Regions from separate parts of the Homo sapiens genome. Here all the other regions are linked to region 1. Evidence: promoter capture Hi-C in 16 types of primary human blood cells and fetal thymus (Javierre and others, 2016). All regions are on one chromosome and are shown on one strand. The core of a region is centred on a gene start or on the middle of the fragment in contact, and the rest is flanking DNA. Distances in the headings are between cores, read along the strand shown. Region 1 holds the start of SMC1A (structural maintenance of chromosomes 1A). Region 2 overlaps PFKFB1 (6-phosphofructo-2-kinase/fructose-2,6-biphosphatase 1). Region 3 holds the start of MAGED2 (MAGE family member D2). Region 4 has its middle 5.2 kb from the start of GNL3L.

The links. The method cuts DNA at HindIII sites, captures the fragments that hold promoters and counts their contacts. A CHiCAGO score of 5 or more calls a contact.
Region 2: a fragment that was not itself captured here is called in contact with the fragment with the promoter of SMC1A in region 1 in 1 of 17 cell types (non-activated CD4 T cells); the score reaches 5.6 in non-activated CD4 T cells.
Region 3: a fragment that was not itself captured here is called in contact with the fragment with the promoter of SMC1A in region 1 in 3 of 17 cell types (naive CD4 T cells, non-activated CD4 T cells and monocytes); the score reaches 7.7 in naive CD4 T cells.
Region 4: a fragment that was not itself captured here is called in contact with the fragment with the promoter of SMC1A in region 1 in 2 of 17 cell types (neutrophils and total B cells); the score reaches 6.3 in neutrophils.

The regions. Positions count from the first base shown.
Region 1 is chrX:53,419,097-53,425,044 of GRCh38, forward strand. It overlaps SMC1A (structural maintenance of chromosomes 1A), which reads right to left and starts at 3,558. Exons shown (of 25, transcript NM_006306.4): 1 at 3,396-3,558. The coding sequence starts at 3,504. It overlaps RIBC1 (RIB43A domain with coiled-coils 1), which reads left to right and starts at 3,777. Exons shown (of 8, transcript NM_001031745.5): 1 at 3,777-3,908; 2 at 4,218-4,306. RefSeq lists enhancers at 2,715-3,689, 2,806-2,985, 3,106-3,155, 3,346-3,525, 3,690-4,661 and 1 more. The HindIII fragment of the contact is 3,638 bases long and covers 850-4,487 here.
Region 2 is chrX:54,983,428-54,989,375 of GRCh38, forward strand. The region is part of intron 1 of PFKFB1 (6-phosphofructo-2-kinase/fructose-2,6-biphosphatase 1); the gene reads right to left. Among named protein-coding and RNA genes, the nearest start is that of PFKFB1, 7.8 kb to the right of the region's middle. The HindIII fragment of the contact is 2,160 bases long and covers 1,205-3,364 here.
Region 3 is chrX:54,806,990-54,810,687 of GRCh38, forward strand. It overlaps MAGED2 (MAGE family member D2), which reads left to right and starts at 756. Exons shown (of 13, transcript NM_177433.3): 1 at 756-813; 2 at 2,314-2,387; 3 at 2,733-3,224. The coding sequence starts at 2,343. The HindIII fragment of the contact is 578 bases long and covers 2,160-2,737 here.
Region 4 is chrX:54,522,056-54,528,003 of GRCh38, forward strand. No RefSeq gene overlaps it. Among named protein-coding and RNA genes, the nearest start is that of GNL3L, 5.2 kb to the right of the region's middle. The HindIII fragment of the contact is 8,786 bases long and covers 1-5,948 here.

The DNA of each region.
Region 1 (5,948 bases), core at 2,308-4,807:
TTTAGTCTCTATAATTTCTATCTCAAGACTGTCCCTAAAGAACTTATATATGACTTTGAACTGAAGATCTGATTTCCAACACCTTTCTACTCAGCCATAAAAACAGCAGCCCAAGTCCTTCCATAGAGACGGTATAAGACTATGATTAGGTTGGACACGGCATCTCACGCCTGTAATCCCAGCACTCTGGGAAGCAGACGTGGGTGGATCACTTGACCTCGGGAGTTTGAGACCAGCCTGGACAACATGGCAAAATCCCATCTCTACAAAAAATACAAAAATTGGCTCGGCATGGTGGCACACTCCAGTTGTCCTGACTACTGGGAAGGCTGAGATGGGAGGGTTGCTTGAGCCCGAGAAGTTGAGGCTGCAGTGAGCCATGATTGTGCCACTGTATGCCAGCCTTGGTGACAGAGCAAGACCCTGACTCCAAAAAAAAAAAAAATAGGCCAGGCGCGGTGGCTCACACCTGTAATCGCAGCACTTTGGGAGGCCCAGGTGGGCAGATCACGGGGTCAGGAGTTTGAGACCAGCCTGAACAACGTGGTGAAACCCCGTCTCTACTAAAAATACAAAAACTGGCCGGGCATAGTGGTGCACGCCTGTAATCCCAGCTCCTCAGGAGGCTGAGGCAGGAGAATAGCTTGAACCCGGGAGGCAGAGGTTGCAGTGAGCTGAGATCACGCCACTGCACTCCAGCCTGGGCGACAGAGAAAGACTTCATCTCAAAAAAAAAAAAAAGAAAAAAAAGAAAAGAATCACTTGAACCCAGCAGGCAGAAGTTGCAGTGAGCCGAGGTCATGCCACTGCACTCCAGTGTGGGCGTCAGAGTGAGACTCCATCTAAAAAAGCTTGCAAACTTGGGCTTAGAACCAACAGACCAGGTTCTAATCTTACTTTCACTACCACTTAGCTGACCTTCCATTCCCTCACCTGGAAAAAGATGAAAAAAACCACAATTCACGGGTCTAAAAATATGTGCGGCACATACTTCTCTATTGGAGTGGCAGGAGCACAGGCATGGGTTCTGAGAACCACGGACAAGTTATCACACCTCTGTGCCTTAGTCTCCTCATGTATAAAACGAAGCTATTGGCATTTTCCTCCTAGGGTCATTTTGAGAATTTAATTGTAAAGGGTCCCTTGGCTGGGTGCAGTGGCTCATGCCTGTAATCCCAGCACTTTGGGAGGCTGAGGCAGGCAGATCACTTGAGCCCAGGAGTTTGAGACCAGCCTGGCCAACTGGGAGAAACACCAACTCTACTAAAAATACAAGAACTAGCCAGATGGGGTGGCGCACGCCTGTAGTCCCAGCTACTTGGGAGGCTGAGGCACGAGAATCACTTGAACCCAAGAGGCAGAGGTTGCAGTGAGCCAACATCATGCCACTGCACTCCAGCCTGGACAACAGAGCAAGACTGTCTCAAAAAAAAAAAAAAAGAAAAGAAAAAGAAAAAGAAAAAACAGGGTCCCAATAAATAAAGTACTTGACACACAGAGTAGGTACTCAATTAATTAGTCCTATCCTAAGTCTGGACTCAGCTGTCTCCCTCATCACAGCAGGACTAGCACATCATGCAGACCAGGAGTCAGCCTTTTAGGAACCAATATCCAACCTTTGGGCTTCTCCCATCATTTCCAGGGAGGACAACATCATCTCACAACCCCAAGCCTCTCTAATCACAATCAATATGGTAAACATTTTTGTAATATATATTATGGACTGAACACCAGTAAAACGTTTCAAGGAATGTCTGCTTTAGGGTACTCACAGGCCAATGAAGATACAAAAACATGCACCATCAATATAGGACTTAATAAACATTAACGTGTACCAAGTGTCTACGGTATGCCACAGAGGAAGACTCACTCACCAAAGGGACTAAAGGAATGGCTTGTAGAGGTGGGCCTTGAAGAACGGGGGCAAGTGGGGGAGTGCCATAGCCCTTTTCAGAACAGCTGGGAATACAAATCTACTAATGCTGAGGGGACTGAATGCCAAGAGGTACATCCTAGCTCTTCCAACAGGGGCCACTACACTAAAACCCGAGGAAACTGGGTGGACACCAAGCATTAGCCCTCCAGGCCAGTGGTTCTCAAACAAGTTGGGGGGTTGGGGGAATCACACACACCCTCTGTGACATCTAGCAATGTCTAGAGACAGTTTTGATTGTCATGCCTGGGGAGCAGGGGTGCTACTGTTATCTAGCAGGTAGATGCCAGAGATGCTGTTAAACATCCTACAATGCACAGAGCACATCCCACAGCAAAGGATTATCTCGCTGGAAATGTCAATAGTGCCACTGTTGAGACACTCAGTCTCCAGGAAAGGTACTCAGTATGTGCTACTTCAGCAAGGGCAGCCTCTTAGGCTAGGATATCATTCAGCTAGAACATCTCTGGGGTGGAAGAATACAGCAGGATTCCAAATGGACATCTGAGGTGAGAGGAATCCACGGTGTATCGTTTAGAGTTGGGAAGACACAAAATAGAGGCTTTACCTGACCACCCTTTCTAAAGACACCACCTAAGTCACTTTATCACATCCACCTGTCTCATTTCCTGTATAGCACTTATGACAGCCTAAAACCATCTTATTTTCTCCTTATCTTCTTTCCCCTCTGGAATATAAGTTCCCTGTGAGCATGGAGTTGGTTTATTCTATTCTCCGCTGTTTCCACAACTTGCAACTGAATAACTCCTGATAAACAATAAGCATTCAACAAATTTGGTAAATTAGTTAATTTCGGCTTTTGACGGTTTCGGTGGTAGGAAAAGGGCGAGTTCGAGGCAACTACCTCTGACATAGCGGTGGGGGGTGGGGATCGACACCTCAAGCATTCTAAAGACTGGAGCGCTGGGTCTGAAATTCAAAAGTGCCGCCTCCAGAGAAGAGTAGAAAGGAGTTGGAGTGTACCAATGCGAGGCGAGAGAGGACGCTGGGCTGAAACAGAAGTGCACCGTTTGGGACCGAAGGCCACGGGAGAGCTACCAGCGTCCCCACATTCTCCGGAGGGGGTCAAGTAAGGCTGGGAAGCCGGCTCCGGCCGGTCCGGCGGGGAGCCGCGCGGCGGAGGACTGAGCTGGCGGGAAGCTGGTTCCAGACGCGACTCCTTTGGCGGGAGGGGGAAGTAGGCGGGGTAACTGGCAGCTCGGCCTGTACCACTGGGCCGGGGCGGGGGCCGCGCAGGAAGCGGCAAGTGACACCTGGAAGGGGTTCGAGTTAGAGCACCCGCGCGGGGAGAGTGGGTTCGAGCAGAACCCCCTCTGGACGGGCAAGGAACCCGTAAGGGTCCGCGACGTTTCAGGTTACATGGGCTGGGTTGTACTACTCCGGCACCGGATAAGGGGTCCAGGCCGGGACGTGCGCAGGGCCGCGGCCAGGTTTATCTCACCAGAGCCATTGGGTCCAATGATGGCGGTGAACCTCTGAAATGGTCCGATAATCTGTCGACCCTTGTACGACTTAAAGTTCTCAATCTCAATCAGTTTCAGGAACCCCATGACGGCCGCGGCGCCGGCGGCAGTAGGACAGGCCGCGCCGTACGCCCGAGAACTGAGGTAGCCCGCGCGGGAAACGCCGCAGTGCAAGCCGGGCGACCGGCAAATGTCGCGAGAATACGTCCAGGCCTAACGGGATTTTCGCCTTCCGGCAGGAGTGGGACCAGGGGCGGGGACTGATGTTGCGTATACGAGGAGCGAGCTGACGACTGGCGTGGTGCCTCCGCCCCCCTTTCTTGTTGCATGGCAACAACAAACACTTGCTCCTGCGGACCAGATCCCCGGAGGAGTTGTTGCTGGGCGGAGTCAGAGCAGTTCTTGAGGTTCAAGGAGGCGGGGGAGACCTGAGCTCACGCTTGCTGAGACAGAAGTCACAGCAGGATTATGCCCCTCAGGGCAAGAGGAAGGTGGGAGCTCGGCTGTGGCTTTAGCCTGGCCAGCTTTCAAGGCTAGGACAAGGACAGGGTCGGGAATTGGAAGGACCCGGGGGGAGCGGAGAGCTGGACGGGAAGGAGGGGCCAACGGGAGGATTCAGTGTTAGGTGAGCTCAGACTTTGCTAATGGTGGGGTGGGATTGGTGGCGGGACGGGTTGCGAAGGCGGACGGGTTGTGAATGGGACTGGGGCTACTCCCAGGCAACAGGGATACAGGCTGGGGAAGGCTACGGCCTGAGATACTACCCCTATCCCCTGCCTCCCTCCTGTTGTACCAAGCAGAGTTCAGAAACTGCCGCCGTAACCCAAGAACAAAGTTGCATGCAGAGCCAACCTAAGAGCTTCAAAATCGGGATTCCTTACTGAGAAAGGTATTTTGTGTGAACCCCCAGGAGTCAGGGTCCCTAAGCCAGCGCTCTCCACCTCCACCTACCTCTGCCTCCATGCCTCTCCCCCATCCCATTCCCACAGCTCTATACCACAATGCCACCTTACCTCTCTTCCCTCTCTGCTCTCTATCATTAATAAGGCAGGGGCCTTAGCAATCCAAGAAGCTTAAAATGTCAGCTGAATCTTCCCCTTCAGTGACCTTATACTGTAATGGCAGGTGAAACCAGTAGGTAAGTTGGTGCCATTCTCAGACTTAAACATGGAAAGGATCTGGTGGTTGCCATAATTATTCCTTTAACTATTTATTAAATTATGTCCGAAGGCTAGAAAGAGTCCTAAAGACTTAGGACAAGTCCAGGAAAGTGAGGAAGTGGCTGGGCATGGTGGCTGACAACTGTAATCCCATCGTGAGGGAGGCAGGCCAAGGCAGGAGGATCACTTGAGACCAGCAGTTCAAGACCAGCCTGGGCAACATAGTGAGACCCTATCTCTACTAAAAATTAAAAAATTAGCTGGGTGTGGCAGCTCTCACCTCTGGTCTACCCAGGATGCCGAAGCAGGAGGATCACTTGAGCCTGGGAGGTTGAGGCTGTAGTGAGTGGTGTCCGCACCACTTCACTCCAGCCTAGGTGACAGAGCAATACCCTGTCTCAAAAATAAATAAAGGGAGGAAGCTTGGTAGATGGAATCTAGTAGGGGAGCCATAAATGAAGTTCAGCTGGGAGAAACAATCAGGCTGAGGGGATAAAATGGCTAAAAGACAGCAATCTCATGTAATCCATGGGGAAATACTGTTCCCTTTTAAAAGATGAGATGGTGAGCCTGGGTAACATAGCAAAACCCAATCTCTACAAAAAAATTTTAAAAATTAGGCAGGCATGGTGGCACACACCTGTAGTCCCAGCTACTCAGGAGGCTGGGGCAGGAAGATCCTTTGAGCCCAGGAGTTTGAGGCTGCAGTGAGCCATGATTGCACCACTACACTCCATCCTGGGCAACAGAGAGAGACCCCATCTAAAACAAATTAAAAATAAAATAAATTTTATTCTCTGCCTCAGCCTTCCAAGTAGCTAGGATTACAGGTGCCCACTGCCACGCCTGGCTAATTTTTTTGTATTTTTAGTAAAGACAGGGTTTCACTATGTTGGCCAGGCTGGTCTTGAACTCCTGACCTCCTGATCCACCTGCCTCGGCCTCCCAAAGTGCTGGGATTACAGGCGTGAGCCACCGCGCCCGGCCAAAAATAAAATAAAATTTTAAATTTAAAAAAGATGAGATGGCACTTGGGGGGAAAATTAAATTGGATCCTTATCTCACACCATACACAAAATGCAACTCCAAGTGGATTAAAAACCTAAGTGACGCCGGGCACAATGGCTCATGCCTGTAATACCAGCACTTTGGGAGGCCGAGGCAGGAGAATTGCTTGAGTTCAAGACTAGCTTGGGCAATATAGTGAGACCCCATCTATATTAAAAAAAATTAAATGGGGCCAGGTGTGGTGGCTCATGCCTGTAATCCCAGCACTTTGGGAGGCCAAGGAGGGTGGATCATAAGGTCAGGAGATTGAGACTATCCTGGCTAACACTGTGAAACCCCATCTCTACTAAAAATACAAAAATC
Region 2 (5,948 bases), core at 1,035-3,534, 1.6 Mb after region 1:
GTTTTCTGTTCCTTTTAGGTTGCTAAGTATAATGGCCTCCAGCATCCATGTCCCTGCAAAGGACATGATGTCATTCTTTTTTATGGCTGCATAGTATTCCACGGCATACACATACTACATTTTCTTTATCCAGTCTATCACTGATGGACATTTAGGTTGATTCCATGTCTTTGGTATTGTGAATAGTGCTGCAATGAACATATGTCTGCATGTGTCTTTATAATAGAACGATTTATATCCCCTTGGGTATATACCCAGTAATGGGATTGCTGGGTTGAATGGTAGTTCTGTTTTTAGCTCTTTGATGAATCACTACACTGCTTTCCACATGGTTGAGCTAATTTACATTCCCACCAGCAGTGTATAAACATTCACTTTCTTCTGCAATCTCACCAGTATCTGTTATTTTTTGACTTTTTTATGATAGCCATTCTGACTGGTGTGAGATGGTATCTCACTGTGGCTTTGATTTGCATTTCCCTAATGATCAGTGATGTTGAGCATTTTTTCATATGCTTGTTGGCTGTATGTGTGTCTTCTTTTGAAAAGTGTCTGTTCATGTCCTTTGCCCACTTTTTAATAGGGTTGTTTTTTTCTTGTAAATTTGTTTAAGTTCAACTTGATAAGAAACTTCTATAAAGCAAACAAAAACTATCACCAACATTATACTTAAAAGTGAAAGACTAAATGCTTTCCCCCTAACATCAGGACTAATGTAAGGATTTCCACCTTCTCCACTCTTTTGACATAGTACTAGAAGTTCTAACCACTGCAATAAGGCAATAAAAGGAAATAAAAGGCATACGGTTTGGAAAATAATTTTTAAAAAATCCCTATTTGCAAATGTCATGATTGTCTACATAGAAATATCCCCCTAAACTACAGAAATTCCTCGAACTAACAAGTGAGTTCATCAAGGCTGCAAGATACAAGATCAACACACAAAGACAATCTTGAGACTTTCATTTCTGGCATGACAGCATGAGGAGCTCTAAAGACCCATTCTCTAATAAAACAAGCTCAGCTGGCAAAATTACAACACAACAACCTTTTAAAATCTCTGGAAATTGTCTTAATGGAATACAGTACATGAAGATATTTTTATTCAAGAAAATCTACTGAAATGTGGTAAGAACACAGTCTTTGATACATGTGCCATGCTACTGTTCCCGACCTTACTACTGTCCCCTCACTACTGGCTCCAAGCTTAGCTTGATAGAAGCTCCACTTAAGGTGTGTATAGCCAAGATGAAGCTCCCTTTCGTCTTGGAGAGAATGTCCCATCAATACTTTGGCATCTTACTGGAAGGAGCAGAGAGCTAGCATTTAGCATTCCCTTCAGCTCAGAATTGCAGAGGCTAAATTCCTGGCAAGTGTGGTTAAGAGGTTGGAGGATCCCTTCCTCCTCCCAGTTTTTACTCATAGAATGGAGGCTATATACCAGGTGCAATAGGCTAAGAATACTGAGGTCCTGATTACCCTCATTCCATCTTGCTCACAGGGTAGGTTCCACACCAGGATAGGCAAACTAAGACCAGAAGCTGCTGTCTCGCCCAGCACCCAGAACAGTGCTCAGACAGTATACCCATGGAGAGAAGAAATTCATAAGATGAGAGAGCTCTGAAACTCTCCCCCCAAAACTAACTTTATTTTTAACATAGTACAAAGAAGCTCAAGCCCAAGGATGTTCTCAAAAACTACAAGTTCACTTAACTAACAGCAACATAGGCCAGCTTGTTCATCAGAGAGAACAAGAGAGAGAGGGACAGGTAAGAAGAGCCCTTCTGGGGTATGAAGAAACCTCCAAGACTTACTTCACAAACTACTCCTGCTAGAGTTTAATTAGATAAGGCTGCTGGGCAATGCATGCTTCAGGACACTGCCAAACAAACAAACAAACAAAAAACAAAAACAAAATACAGCATTCAGCTAGTAATTAGTGGAGCCTAGAGTGTAATACCCCCATGTGGGCTGACAGCTTAATAGAGAGACTGGGAAAAAGTCAAAGAAAGCCCAAATTACCTGCAAGCCAAAAACTATGCACTCCAAGAAGCAACACTGAAGGGTTCACACTGCAGGGAAACATACTTTAAAAATAGCCTAGCCAAGTCACAAAGCAAAGAGTTATATAGAAATAAGGAAATGATACCAGAAGGTAATTCAAACCCACAGGAACAAATGAAAATAATAGAAAATAATAAATACATACATGTTCTCCTTAATTTTCTCAGCTTCCTTAAAACATAAAATTATATAAAATAATACTTATAATGATGTATTATTTAGTTTTTAGCATATACAGATATAATATATATATTATAATAGCTCAAAAAGGAAGGTGAAAGAGAGCTATATATGAGTAAAATTTTTATATCTCATTGAAATTAAATTAGTACAAATCTGAAGCACACTGATGTATGATGTATGTGAAAAGCCCTAGAACAACCACGAAGAATATACCTAAAAAATATATAATAAAAAATGATCAAATGAATTAAAAAGTTAAACTAGAATAATTCATTTAATGCAAAAGAAAGCAGTAAAGGAAGAATAGAGAGAAAAAGACATGAGCTCTATGGAAAAATAAAACTGCATATTTAAACCAACTATATCAATAATGATTTTAAATCAGAACAGATTAATCAACCCAATCAAAAGGTAGAGAATATCTAACTGAATACAAACAAACAAGATCCAACTGCATGCTGCCTACAGAAGATAGGTTTTAGACTGAAAGATACAAGGCAGGCCTGGTGGCTCACGCCTATAATCCGAGCACTTTGGGAAACCAAGGTGGGAGGATCCCTTGAGTCCAGAAGTTTGAGACCAGCCTGGGCAACATAGTGAGACTCCATCTCTATTCTAAAAAAGAAAGAAGAAAAAAGAGAAAGAAGCAAATAGATTAAAAGTAAAATAACGTAAGTAATACATCATGCAAACAACAACCACAAGAAATTTGGAGTGACCATACTAATATGAGACAAAATGGATGTTCAAAAACATTACTAGAGATATATAGGGACATTCAATAATGACAAAAGGGTCAATCCATAATGAATATATCACAAGTATAAACGTATATGCCTAAACAACAGAGCTGCCAAATACATGAAGCAAAACTGGCAGAATTGAAGGGAGAAATAGACAATCCACTGACAATAGTTGGAAACTTCAAGACCACTCTTTCAATAATGGATAGAACAACTACATAGAAGATCAACAACAGGGAAATAGAGGACTTCAACACAAAGTAGTAATAACAAACATCTGTAAAACACTCCATCTCCAAACAGCAGACTATACATTTTTCCAAAGTGTACATCAAACATGCTCCAAGAGAGACAATATTCTAGGCCATAAAAGAAGCTTCAATAAATTTGGAAGAATGGAAATCATATAAAGTATGTTCTCCAATCATAATGGAGTAAAATAAAAAATTAATAACAGAGAGAACTTTGGGAAATTCACAAATATGGGAACCTAAAGGAAACAGAAGAAGGATATAATAAGGATTAGAGGTGAAAATAATAAAACAGAGACTAGGAAAACATTAGAAAAAAATCAACAAAATCAAAAGTTGGTTATTTGAAAAAATTAATAAACTTGACAAACCTTTAGTGAGACTGACCAAGAAAAAAAAGAGAAAACTCAAATTAATAAATTCAGGAAAAAAAGAGGAGACATTACTACTGACTTTATGAAAATAAAAAGAATTATAAGGGAATATTATGAACAATCATAAACTGTATGCCAACACAATAAATGCCTTAGGTGAAATAGATAAATTATTAGAATGATACAAACTCTCAAAACTGACTAAAAAAGAAATGAAATCTAAATAGATCTATAACAAGGGGTTGAATAAGTAATGAAAAACCTTGCCAGAAAGAAAAGTCCAGGATTAGATGGTTTCACTGGTGAATTCTACAAACATTTAAAGAATAATACGATTCTTCAAAAGCTCTTTCAAAAAGTAGAAGAGGAAGAAGCACTTCCCAACTCATTCTATGAGGCCAGTATTTCCGTGCTACCAAAGTTAGGCACATATATTAGAAGAAAAGAAAATTATAGACCAATAGCTGTTGTGAATATGGATGTAAAAATCCCCACAAAACACTAGCAAACTGAACCCAGGAATGTATAAAAGGATTTATATGTATACATTATATATATGTATATATTATACTTATACTTTTTACATCACAATCAAGTTAGATTTATTATAGGAATGCAAGCTTGATTTAACCTTTGAAAATCAATTAATGCAACAGATCACATCAATAGAATTAAGGACAAAAAAACCAAATGATCATCATAATAGGCACAGATAAAGCATTTGGGAAATTAAATACCCCTTCATGATAAAACCAACAACAAATTAAAACTAGAAGGAAAGGCCCTAAACCTAATAAAAGACACCAATGAAAAACCCACAGTGAATATCACACTTAATGGTGAAAGATTGAATAGTTTCTCCCATGCCGCCTGCCAAGATCAGTAACAACAGAAGGATGTCTGTTTTCATCTCATCTTTTCAACATTCTAGTAGAGGTTATAGCCAAGGTAATTAGGTAAGAAAAAGAAAATAAAAGGCATCTGGATTGGAAAGGAAGAGATGAAATTATTTCTATTTGCAGATAACATAATCTTGTATATAGAAAATCCCAAGGAATGCACTAAAAAACACCATTGGACCTAATAAATGAGTCCAGCAATGTTGCAGAATATAAGATCAATATATAAAAATCAATTACATTTCTATAAAGTAGCCATGAGCAAACAAAATGAAATTAAGTAAAACAATTTTATTTACAATAGCATCAAAACAATAAAATGCTTAAAAGAACACTTTAAAAAATGTAAAACACTCTGAAAACTGCAAAACATTGGTGAATATAATTAAAGACCTAAGTAAATGCAACAACATCTCATGTTCAGGGACCTAAAACTTATTATTGTTAAGATGGTAATATTCCCTAACTAATCTATAGATTAAATGCAGCTTCTGTCAAAGTTTCAGCTTAATTCTTTGCAGAAATTAATAAATTGGTCTTAAAATTTATATGGAAATGCAAAGGACCTAGAATAGCCAAAACAATCATAAAAACAATCTGAAAAAGACCAAAATTAGAAGACATACTTCCCAATTTCAAAATTACAATTAAACTACAATAATCAAGAATGTGTGGTACTGGTATAAGGGTAGAGATACATATAAACAAATGGAATAGAACTGAGAGCCCAGAAGTAAACCCTTCAACTTATAGTCACCTGATTTTCATCAAGGGTGCCAAGACAATTAAGTAGGGGAAAGAAGAGTCTTTTCAAAAAATGCTGCTAGGACAACTGGATAGCCACATGCAAAAGAACGAAGCTGGATTCCCATCTCACACCACATGCAAATATTAACTCAGAATAAATTGAAAAACCTAAATGTAAGAGCCAAGACTATAAAACTCTTAGAAAAAAGCCTAGGCATATATCTTTGTGACTTTGCATGCTACAACATGGATTAACCTTGAAAACATGCCCAAAGAAACGAGCCAGATACAAAAGGCCACATATTGTATGATTCCCCTTATATAAAATGTCCAGAATAGGCAAATTCATTGAGACTGAAAGTAGATTAGTGGTTGCCAGGGGCTAAGGGGAGAGGGTCATCTGGAGTGAGTCTAGAGTATGGAATTCCTTTTTGGCATAAAGAAAATGTCCTGGAATTAGTGGTGATGGTTACACAACTATGTGAATATACTCAAAACCACTGTATACTTCAAAATGGTGAATTTTATGGTATGTGAATTATATCTCTATCAAAAACAATTTTTTAAATGTAGGAAAACACATACCAGGCAAATATTAAGCTAAATAAAGCTAATGTAGGTATATTAATATGAGAAAAAAGATTGATTATAGGGCAAAAACATCAATGATACCAAATTACCAGGTAT
Region 3 (3,698 bases), core at 1,199-3,698, 1.4 Mb after region 1:
TAAATAACATGAAAAATATTTGTAATATGTGACATGTACAGGAGAGACATTGCTGGCGGGAATGTTATCCATTTACTTTTTAGGAGTAAGTTGACAAATTTTGCATCAAAATGGAAGACTTTTTTGTAGCATTTGAGCTAGCAAAAAATACCATAAATAACAAAAAGTGCACCAAGCAATCTAAATGTACATGTGTACTGGACTGGTTCAATAAATTATGGGACATCTATGCAAGAAAAGATCATGCAGCTGTTTAGAAAAATGTGCACTAACGGAAAGATGTTTTATATATAACTGGAAAAAAACAGGTCGCAGAACAGAAGGTATGTATAGTGTACCATTTGTCGGAGAGAGAACCTGAATAATTAGTATACGAATAGAAAAAAAATCTGGATAGCAAAATGTTAATAGTGGTTATTTCTGGGAGATGAGTGGCCTTTCATTGGTGTGTTATATATTACTGCATTGTTTGAATTTTTACAACAACAACAAAAGAACAACATATTACCTTTGTAATAAGAAAAAATGAAGATATAAAAATAAATTCAATGAATGACTTGCTTTCAGGGGGCGGTTTGAGTTGGAAGAGCTTCAGACTGAGCCTGGTACAGTGGCATAAACATGGGCTTTGGCGTCAGACAGCCCTGAGCGGGGCCCCATTGCCCCACCCCCGAGGAAGGCGAGGGGGGGTGGCAGGGGGCTGCGGAAAGGGGCTGGGCTGGGTTGGGCTGTCTGCAGCTCTAGTCCAGGAGGCTGAGACTTCGAGAGGGACTTAGAGAAGGCAGACGCATCCCGAACTCGCTGGAGGACAAGGTGAGGGGCGTTGATATTGGGGTTTTATGGAGGTCAGACAGTGGTTCCAGACCCCTCGAACCCATAGCCAGGCAGATGAGCAATTCTTACTGCACCACTGCAGCTGAAGCAGAGGTGACCTGGAGTGGGGTGTAGGCAATGAGGACGACTGAGAAAGTAGTAGGCTGTACAGACTGGGAGCAGAGACTAGCGGAGGGAGGAGGGGAGAAAAACGGGGAACCAGGAATGTTGGGAGGGGGACGAGGAATACAAGGAGGGAGGGGAACACTGAGGGGGAGTGAAGATCCAGAGAAGAGAATCGGGGATGCAGAGAGGGATTAAGGAATACTGAGGGGCAGGGTGTGCAAACGTAACACGGAGGAGGATGTAAGAAATGGGAAGAAGGAATTCTGGAGTAAATAGGAAATGTGAGGTAGGAATAGGGAGTAGGGAGCCAGGCTAAGGGAATACGGAGGGGGGCATAAGGAATGAGGAGCAGGGAGCGGGGGAGGGGCAGACAGGCTGGGACGGAGGCCCCCTAGGGAGGCGGAAAGGGGCGGGACCACTTCCGGCCTAGAGAGGGGAGGGCAGTCTCCGAGTTTCGGAGGGGCTTGGAGTGAGTGGACGCACTCGGGAATTGTAGGAGGACGAGGTGAGCAGCCGGGTCGGCTTTTGGATGAGAGCCCCGCTAGGGGTCGGCCCCACCCTCTGGGATCTGGAGAAAACCTGCCTTAAGGACCGGATCGTACCGGATCCATCCGGCTGGGAAGGGAGGGGACTGGACCCGGTTTGGCCGGGCCCAAGATGGAATCACTAGCTCAGTATTTATTTGAGGAGGGGGTGTAATAGGGAAGGGGCGGAACCAAGATGCGCCTGTTTGGAGGGGGGCGTGTTAGGAAGAAGGGCGGGGCCAAGAGACACTGGACTCTGTAGGGCGTGAGTAGGGGAGGGGCCGGGTCCACCAGACACTGCGACAATTTTGGAGGAAGGCTTGTTGGGCAGGGGGCGGGACCGAATGGTACTGCGGACCTGGAGAGGGGCGTGTGTTGGGGCAGAGTGCCAGACTGAGACCACGACCATTGCGCATGCGCACTATGTTTCGCTAGAAAGGGGCGTGTTGAGAAGGGCCAGCACTGAGAAGAGCCAGCTGCTGAATGCGCATGTGCACGGTGGACATCAAAGAAAGGGCTCGTGCTGGGAAAGCGGGCGGGGCTGAGAGCGGCCCTGCAGCCGACGCGCATGCGCTCTATCGACCTGCGGCTGGGTGGGGGGTGCACTGGGAAAAGGGGCGGGGTCCTCAGAGCTGCCGCGCTGGCACATCTTCCTGGAGAAGGGGAGGGTGCGGCTGCAGAGAATTGAGACTTAGAAGCTTTGAATTCCTGTATCTGAGAACGGAGTCGTTGGGGGTGGTGGAGGGGGTTGGAATTGGGGACCTACGGAAGGTGAGGATCAGCCTCCAGGCACAACAGGGGAGAGGACGTTCAGTGGGCTTCAACTTGACCCAGGCCTTCTCCCCTTCAGGCTCAGCTCTTGCCAGGCCAAATTGAGACATGTCTGACACAAGCGAGAGTGGTGCAGGTCTAACTCGCTTCCAGGTAAGGCCTCTTTCTGTCCTTTCCCCAGCTGCTTTTCCTCTCCAGCCCTTGTTGCTGCCCCCAAGTCCCTTGGCTCTTCCCCTCCCATCCTTGTCCTTCTCCACCTACTTTCCTGCCTGGGTGTCCCCCTGCCCAGTGGAGGGAGGGAGAGAAGGTGGGCGGGCCCCTCTTCTGCCATCAGTTCTTGCTCAGAGGAAAGGGAGGCCTTGTTGGGCTGAGGTGGTCAGAGCACACCGCAGGTAGGAGTCAGTACAGGTCAGAGAAGTGTGGCCTTGGAATTTTGGAGCCATTTGCTTAGTTGGGGGTGAGGAGAAGGTCTATGAACTTCCCTGCTTCCTCTTGCAGGCTGAAGCTTCAGAAAAGGACAGTAGCTCGATGATGCAGACTCTGTTGACAGTGACCCAGAATGTGGAGGTCCCAGAGACACCGAAGGCCTCAAAGGCACTGGAGGTCTCAGAGGATGTGAAGGTCTCAAAAGCCTCTGGGGTCTCAAAGGCCACAGAGGTCTCAAAGACCCCAGAGGCTCGGGAGGCACCTGCCACCCAGGCCTCATCTACTACTCAGCTGACTGATACCCAGGTTCTGGCAGCTGAAAACAAGAGTCTAGCAGCTGACACCAAGAAACAGAATGCTGACCCGCAGGCTGTGACAATGCCTGCCACTGAGACCAAAAAGGTCAGCCATGTGGCTGATACAAAGGTCAATACAAAGGCTCAGGAGACTGAGGCTGCACCCTCTCAGGCCCCAGCAGATGAACCTGAGCCTGAGAGTGCAGCTGCCCAGTCTCAGGAGAATCAGGATACTCGGCCCAAGGTCAAAGCCAAGAAAGCCCGAAAGGTAAGACCTCTGCAGTCACCACCCTTGGTTTTCTACTCCTCTCTCAGTTGATTCATTTGTTCTACAAACATTTAGAAAGATCCCTGTGCTCATCAGGGCTGTGGGGGGCACTGAGAGTAATGTGATGTAATTCCTGTCTTCAGAGAGCTTGCAGACTGATGGGGAGGTGCAATCTGAATGTAATGCAGTTTATGTTTACATAGTAGCTGCCCTGTATTAGGCCTTGAGCTAAGCACATTTATGCAGGTTATCTCATTAAATCTTGAAAGTAATTCTCATAGCCCCAATTTTATGGAGAAGGAAGCTGAGTTCCAGAGAGGTGAAGCGGCTTGTCTAGGATGGTTCAAGCAGAGCCAGTAGTGGGCACAGAAAGAGAAGAAGACTCAGCCTCCACCCACCCTTGGTTTGCTCCTGGCCTGCTAGGCAGATGAAACACCTGCTTGGAAGTCAGTGAGAAACAAATCCAGGGTTCAG
Region 4 (5,948 bases), core at 1,245-3,744, 1.1 Mb after region 1:
TGGTCTCAATCTCCTGACCTCGTGATCCACCCGCTTTGGCCTCCTGAAGGGCTGGGATTACAGGCGTGAGCCACCGTGCCCGGCCTAATTTTTGTATTTTTAGTAGAGATGGGGTTTCACCATGTTGGCCAGGCTGGTTTCGAACTCCTGACCTCAGGTGATCCACCCGCCTCAGCATCCCAAAGTGCTGGGATTACAGGCGTGAGCCACTGTGCCCGGTCTAACATACCCAACATATTTAACATTTATTCCTGAATATCATCTAACACCCAGTCCATGTTCTACTGTCCTTCATTATCTCAAAAATACCTTTTTTAGCCTGGCCAACATGGTGAAACCCTGTCTCTACTAAAAATGCAAAAATTAGCTGGGCATGGTGGTGCGCCCCTATAATCCCAGCTACTCGGAAGGCTGAGATGGGAGAATCGCTTGAGCCTGGGAGGCGGAGGCTGCAGTGAGCCGAGATCTTGCCACTGCACCCCAGCCTGGGTGACAGAACAAGACCCCATCTCGAAAAAAAAAATCTTTTTATACTTCATTGGAATCTGGTTGTTAACAAGACCCACACATTGCATTTGTTTGCTTTATCTCTGAAATTTCCTTTCCTTTTTATTTCTTTTTAATCTTTTTTTTTTTTTTTTTTTTTTGAGACGAGGTCTCGTTCTGTCCCTCAGGCTGGAGTGCAGTGGTGCGATCTCGGCTCACTGCAAACTCTGCCTTCCGGGTTCCAGTGATTCTCCTGCCTCAGCCTCCCCAGTAGCTGGGATTACAGGCATGTGCCATGATGCCCGGCTAATTTTTGTGTTTTTAGTAGAGATGGGGTTTCACCATGTTGGCCAGCCTGGTCTTGAACTCCTGACCTTAAGTGATCCACCCGCCTCGGCCTCCCGAAGTGCAGGGATTACAGGCATGAGCCACCATGCCCAGCCTTATTTTCTTTTTAATCTGTAATTTTCCCTCTCTTTTCTTCCTTCCATTTATTTGTTGAATATACTGGCTCTTTTGTCCTGTAAAATTTCCCAAGTTCTTGCTTTGGTGTATTGTTTCTCCCGGTACCATTTAACATGTTTCTCTTCCTATATTACCTGAATTTTTTGTAAATGAAGTTAAATAGAGATGCTCGATTAAATTGTTTCTTTTTTCCTTCTTGTTTAAAAGTATACTTCATGAATAGTGCTGTATACTTCTTATTGTACAACATAAGAAGGCACATATATCTTGTTTTCTGTCTTTGATGATAAGTTTGATGAGTAGGGTCAGATGGTATCAGCCTAATTCCTCTGTTATAATTCCCCAAATGTTTTTCACCTATGGTTTTAGCAGCCATATTTTTTCTTAAATCCATTATCTCATTAGGGATTGAATTGTAACACTGCCATTTCTCTTGCATTTATAAGTTGAGTCTTCCATAAAGAAGCTCTTTCCTTAATTATCTATTTGATTAACCTGCAATATGATTCATGTGGGAAGGCAGGAATAATGCCAGATTTTTTCCATTTGTTGATTAATTATCAGCAGAATGAGCTGATGCCTTAGCAACATCCAAGGTAACCAATTCATTTTTATTTTTATTTTTATTTTTTTTTGAGACAGAGTCTCACTGTCACCCAGGCTAGAGTGCAGTGGCGCAATCGGCTCACTGCAACTGCTGCATCCCGGGTTCAAGCGATTCTCCTGCCTCAGTCTCCCAAGTAGCTGGGACTACAGGCGCCCACCACCATGCCCAGCTAATTTTTGTATTTTAGTAGAGACGGGGTTTCACTATGTTGGCCAGGCTGGTCTTGAACTTCTGACCTCGTGATCTGCCCACCTCGGCCTCCCAAAATCCTGGGATTACAGGTGTGAGCCACTGTGCCTGACCTCATTTTTATTTTTTAAAATACACAATTCTTAAGAGAAAACTTTAATAAAGAACACAGAAGAAGATGAACTGAAGAAATGAGGGTATATTCCACGTTGTTGGATGGAATGAGTAATTATTACAATGATGGCAGTTCCTCCAAATTAATCTATAAATTTAGTGTGATCCCAATCAAAATCCCAGTTGGATTTTTGAAGACCTTGATAGACTCATTTTAAAATTTATGTGGCAATAGATCTAAGACACCTAAAAAGAACACTAAAGAGGAGGAAATGCTCCATGTGATATTTAGACACATTACAAAATACTAAAACCAAGGTGGTATTAGCCCAAGGACAGAAAAAGATGTATGTGTGTTTATGTGTGTATGCCTAATAACATATGATAATGGTGGCATGGCAAATCAATGGGAAAAGGAGGAATTGTTCAGTATTTGATGGTGGGAAACCTGGCTTACCATGTGGAGAATAATAAAGCTACATTCCCACGTATTACCACATATGAGGGTGGAATCTAGATGGATTGAAACCTATTCCACCTATTAGACTGGCAAAAATTAGCCATCTTGGTCGGGCGTGCTGACTCACGCCAGTAATCCCAGCACTTTGGGAGTCTGAGGTGGGTGGATTGCTTGAGGTCAGGTGAAACCCCATCTCTAATAAAATACAAAAATTAGCAGGGCATGGTGGCGGGCGCCTGTAATCCCAGCTACTAGGGAGGCTGAGGCAGCAGAATTGCTTGAACCCGGGAGGTGGAAGTAGCAGTGAGCCAAGATCGCACTACTGCATTAAGACTCTGTCTTAATATATGTGCTGCCGAGGAGAGCACAACAGAGACTCTGTCTTAAAAACAAAAAATAGCAAGCTAGAGAATGTCAAGTGTTAGTGAAGATGTGGGGATACAGAAATCCTCACACATGGTGAAAGTGTGAACTGGTACTGCCATCCCAGAGAACCATCTAGAAGTATTGGTGTTTTTAAGTCAAACTAAGTATATGCATACTTTAGAATGTAATCATGTGGCTCTTGAGTGTATGTTCCAAAAGAAATCCTCACACAGGTCAATAAGGGAATATGTACAAGGATGTTCACTGAAGTATTATTGGAGAGCTGGAGGCAATCTATGCAGTGAAGGCACAGTATGGTTACCATGAGCAGATAGAAGCAATGGATGAGGTCAGGTTGGGCGCAGTGGCTCACGCCTGTAATCCCAGCACTTTGGGATGCCAAGGTGGGTGGATCACCTGAGGCCAGGAATTCGAGACCAGCCTGGCCAATATGGCAAAACCCCGTCTCTACTAAAAATACACGGGCATGGTGGTGGGCGCCTGTAATTCCAGCTACTCGGGAGGCTGAGGCAGGAACCCAGGGGGCAGAGTTTGCAGTAAGCCCAGATAGCGCTACTGCACTCCAGCCTGGGCAACAGAGTGAGACACCATCTCAAAAAAAAAAAAAAAAAAAAAAAAAGAAGCAATAGATTAGATGTACACACAGCAATATGGATAGACCTTAAAAACACTAGGCTGAATGGAAAACAGAATGACTTTTTTTTTTTTTTTTTTTTAAGACAGAGTCTTACTCCATCACCCAGGCTGGAGTGCAGTGGTGTGATCTCAGCTCACTGCAACCTCTGCCTCCCAGGTTCAAGCGATTCTCGTGCCTCAGCCTCCCCAGTAGCTGGGATTAGAGGTGTGCGCCACCACACCTGGCTAATTTTTGCATTTTTAGTAGAGACAGGGTTTCGCCATGTTGGCCAGGCTGGTCTTGAACTCCTGGCCTCAAGCAATCCGCCTGCTTCGGCCTCCCAAAGTGCTGGGATTACAGGCATGAGCCACCGCACCTGGCCAGAATGAGATATTTATGTAAAAGAAAAACAAGTACAAAGTATGCTCAATAGTGAGACAATCTGATATCATGTGCCTCTTGAGGTGACACAATACAAAATAAAGGATATCCCCTATGTACTGTTCTTGCTAAAAATATTTATTCTGAATCTATTCATGTGAAAAGAACAAATGAATCCAGAATATGGGACATATTACAAGACAATTGGCCTGGACTCTTCAAAAACATAAATGTCATTTGAAACAAAAAATATAGGGGTATTATTCTAGATTAAAAGAGGTTAAAGGGATATAACAACCAAATGTAATACACAAACGTCAGGTGTGGTGGCTCATGACTGTAATCCCTGCACTTTGGGAGGCCAAGGTGGATGGATCACTCCAATGTGCAGAAACGCTGTCTCTACTTAAAATACAAAAATTAGACAGGCATGGTGGCGGGCGCCTGTAGTCCCAGCTACTTGGGAGGTGGAGGCAGGAGAATTACTTGAACCCAGGAGGTAGAGGTTGCAGTGAGCCAAGATTGCGCCACTGCACTCGAGCCTGGGCAACAGAGCAAGACTTCGTCTCAAAAAAAAAAAAAAAAAAAAAAAAAAAAAGAAACGTAGTACATAAACCTTGATTAGATCCTGGGATCAAAAAACGAAAGCTGCATTTTTGGGGATAATTGGGCGGAAATGTGAATATGGGCTATACGTGATGGCATTATTGAATTATAGTTAAATCTTCTTAGGTTTGATAATGGTATTGTGGTTATGTAGGATGATATTTGGTGAAGTATAAGGGTATATGGGCTTTCATTATACCATTCTTTCGACTGTTCTGAATTTGGAAACAATATAAAATAAAAATTTGGCCGGGTGCAGTCACCCACAATCCCATCACTTTAGGAGGCCGAGGCAAGCAGATTGCTGGAGCCCCGAGTTTGAGACCAGTAAAAAAATCTTTTTTTTTTTTTTTTGAGAGAAGTCTCGTGCTTGTCCCCCAGGTTTGAGTGCAATGGCTTGATCTTGGCTCACTGCAACCTCCGCCTCCCGGGTTCAAACGATTCTCCTGCCTCTGCCTCCCAAGTAGCTGGGATTAAGGCGCCTGCCACCACACCCAGCTAATTTTTTGTATTTTTCTTTTTGGTAGAGACAGGGTTTCACCATGTTGGCCAGGCTGGTCTCGAACTCCTGACCTCAGGTGATCCGCCTGCCTTGGCCTCCCAAAGTGCTGGGATTACAGGTGTGAGCCACAGTGCCCAGCCGAGACCAGTAAAAACATCTTTAAAAATTAGCTGGGCATGGTGATGTGCGCCTGTAGTTCCCCAGCTACTCGGGAGGGTGAGGTGGGAGGATCCCTTGAGCCCAGGAGGTGGAGGTTGCAGTGAGTGGAGGTCATGCCACTGCACTCCAGTCTGGGCGATAGAGCAAGACCCTGGCTCAAAAAAAAAAAAAAAAAAAAAGGAGGAAATACACATAAAGCAATAATACGTATTTTCCAAGAATGCATATATGCAAAAATATGCATAAAACACCTTTGAATGGCTGCCTATAGGAGGGAAATGAAAGTGGGAAGTAGAGATGAAAGAGATTTTAAAAAATAACACAATCTCTCACTAAAGTAATAAATATTCATCAAATACATGGAAAACACAGAAAAGTACAAGGAAGAAAATTAAATTCACTGATAATGTCACTTTGATTTGTTAGAAATGCAAATCCTGGGCCCTAAACCAGACTTACTGAATCAAAACTCTGGGCATGAGGCCCAGTAATTGGTGTTCTAACAAGCCCTCCCAGTGATTCTGATGCTGGGGAAAGTTAGAGAACCACTAATCTAGATTTAACTATTATTAACATTTTGTTTCAGATCCTTGTAGTCTTTTAAAAAATATGAAATATTTCGGACATACAAATAAGTATAGAGAAGATAACAAAAACCCACGTACCTACCACCTAGCTTAGAAAGTAAAATATTAGACAAACAGTTGAAGTTCCCTGTGTATCTCTCTCTCATTCTGTTCTTTTGTTTTCTTCCCCAGAGGTAATCAGTATTCTGGATTTGGTATTTCTCCTTAAAAATTATTGTTGGCTGGGGGCGGTGGCTCACACCTGGAATCCCAGCACCTTGGGAGGCCAAGATGTGGTTGGATCACTTGAGCTCAGGAACTCAAGATTAGCCTGGGCAACATGGTGAAACCCTGTCTCTACAAAAAATACAAAAATTAGCCAGGTGTGGTGGTACATGCCTGTAGTCCAG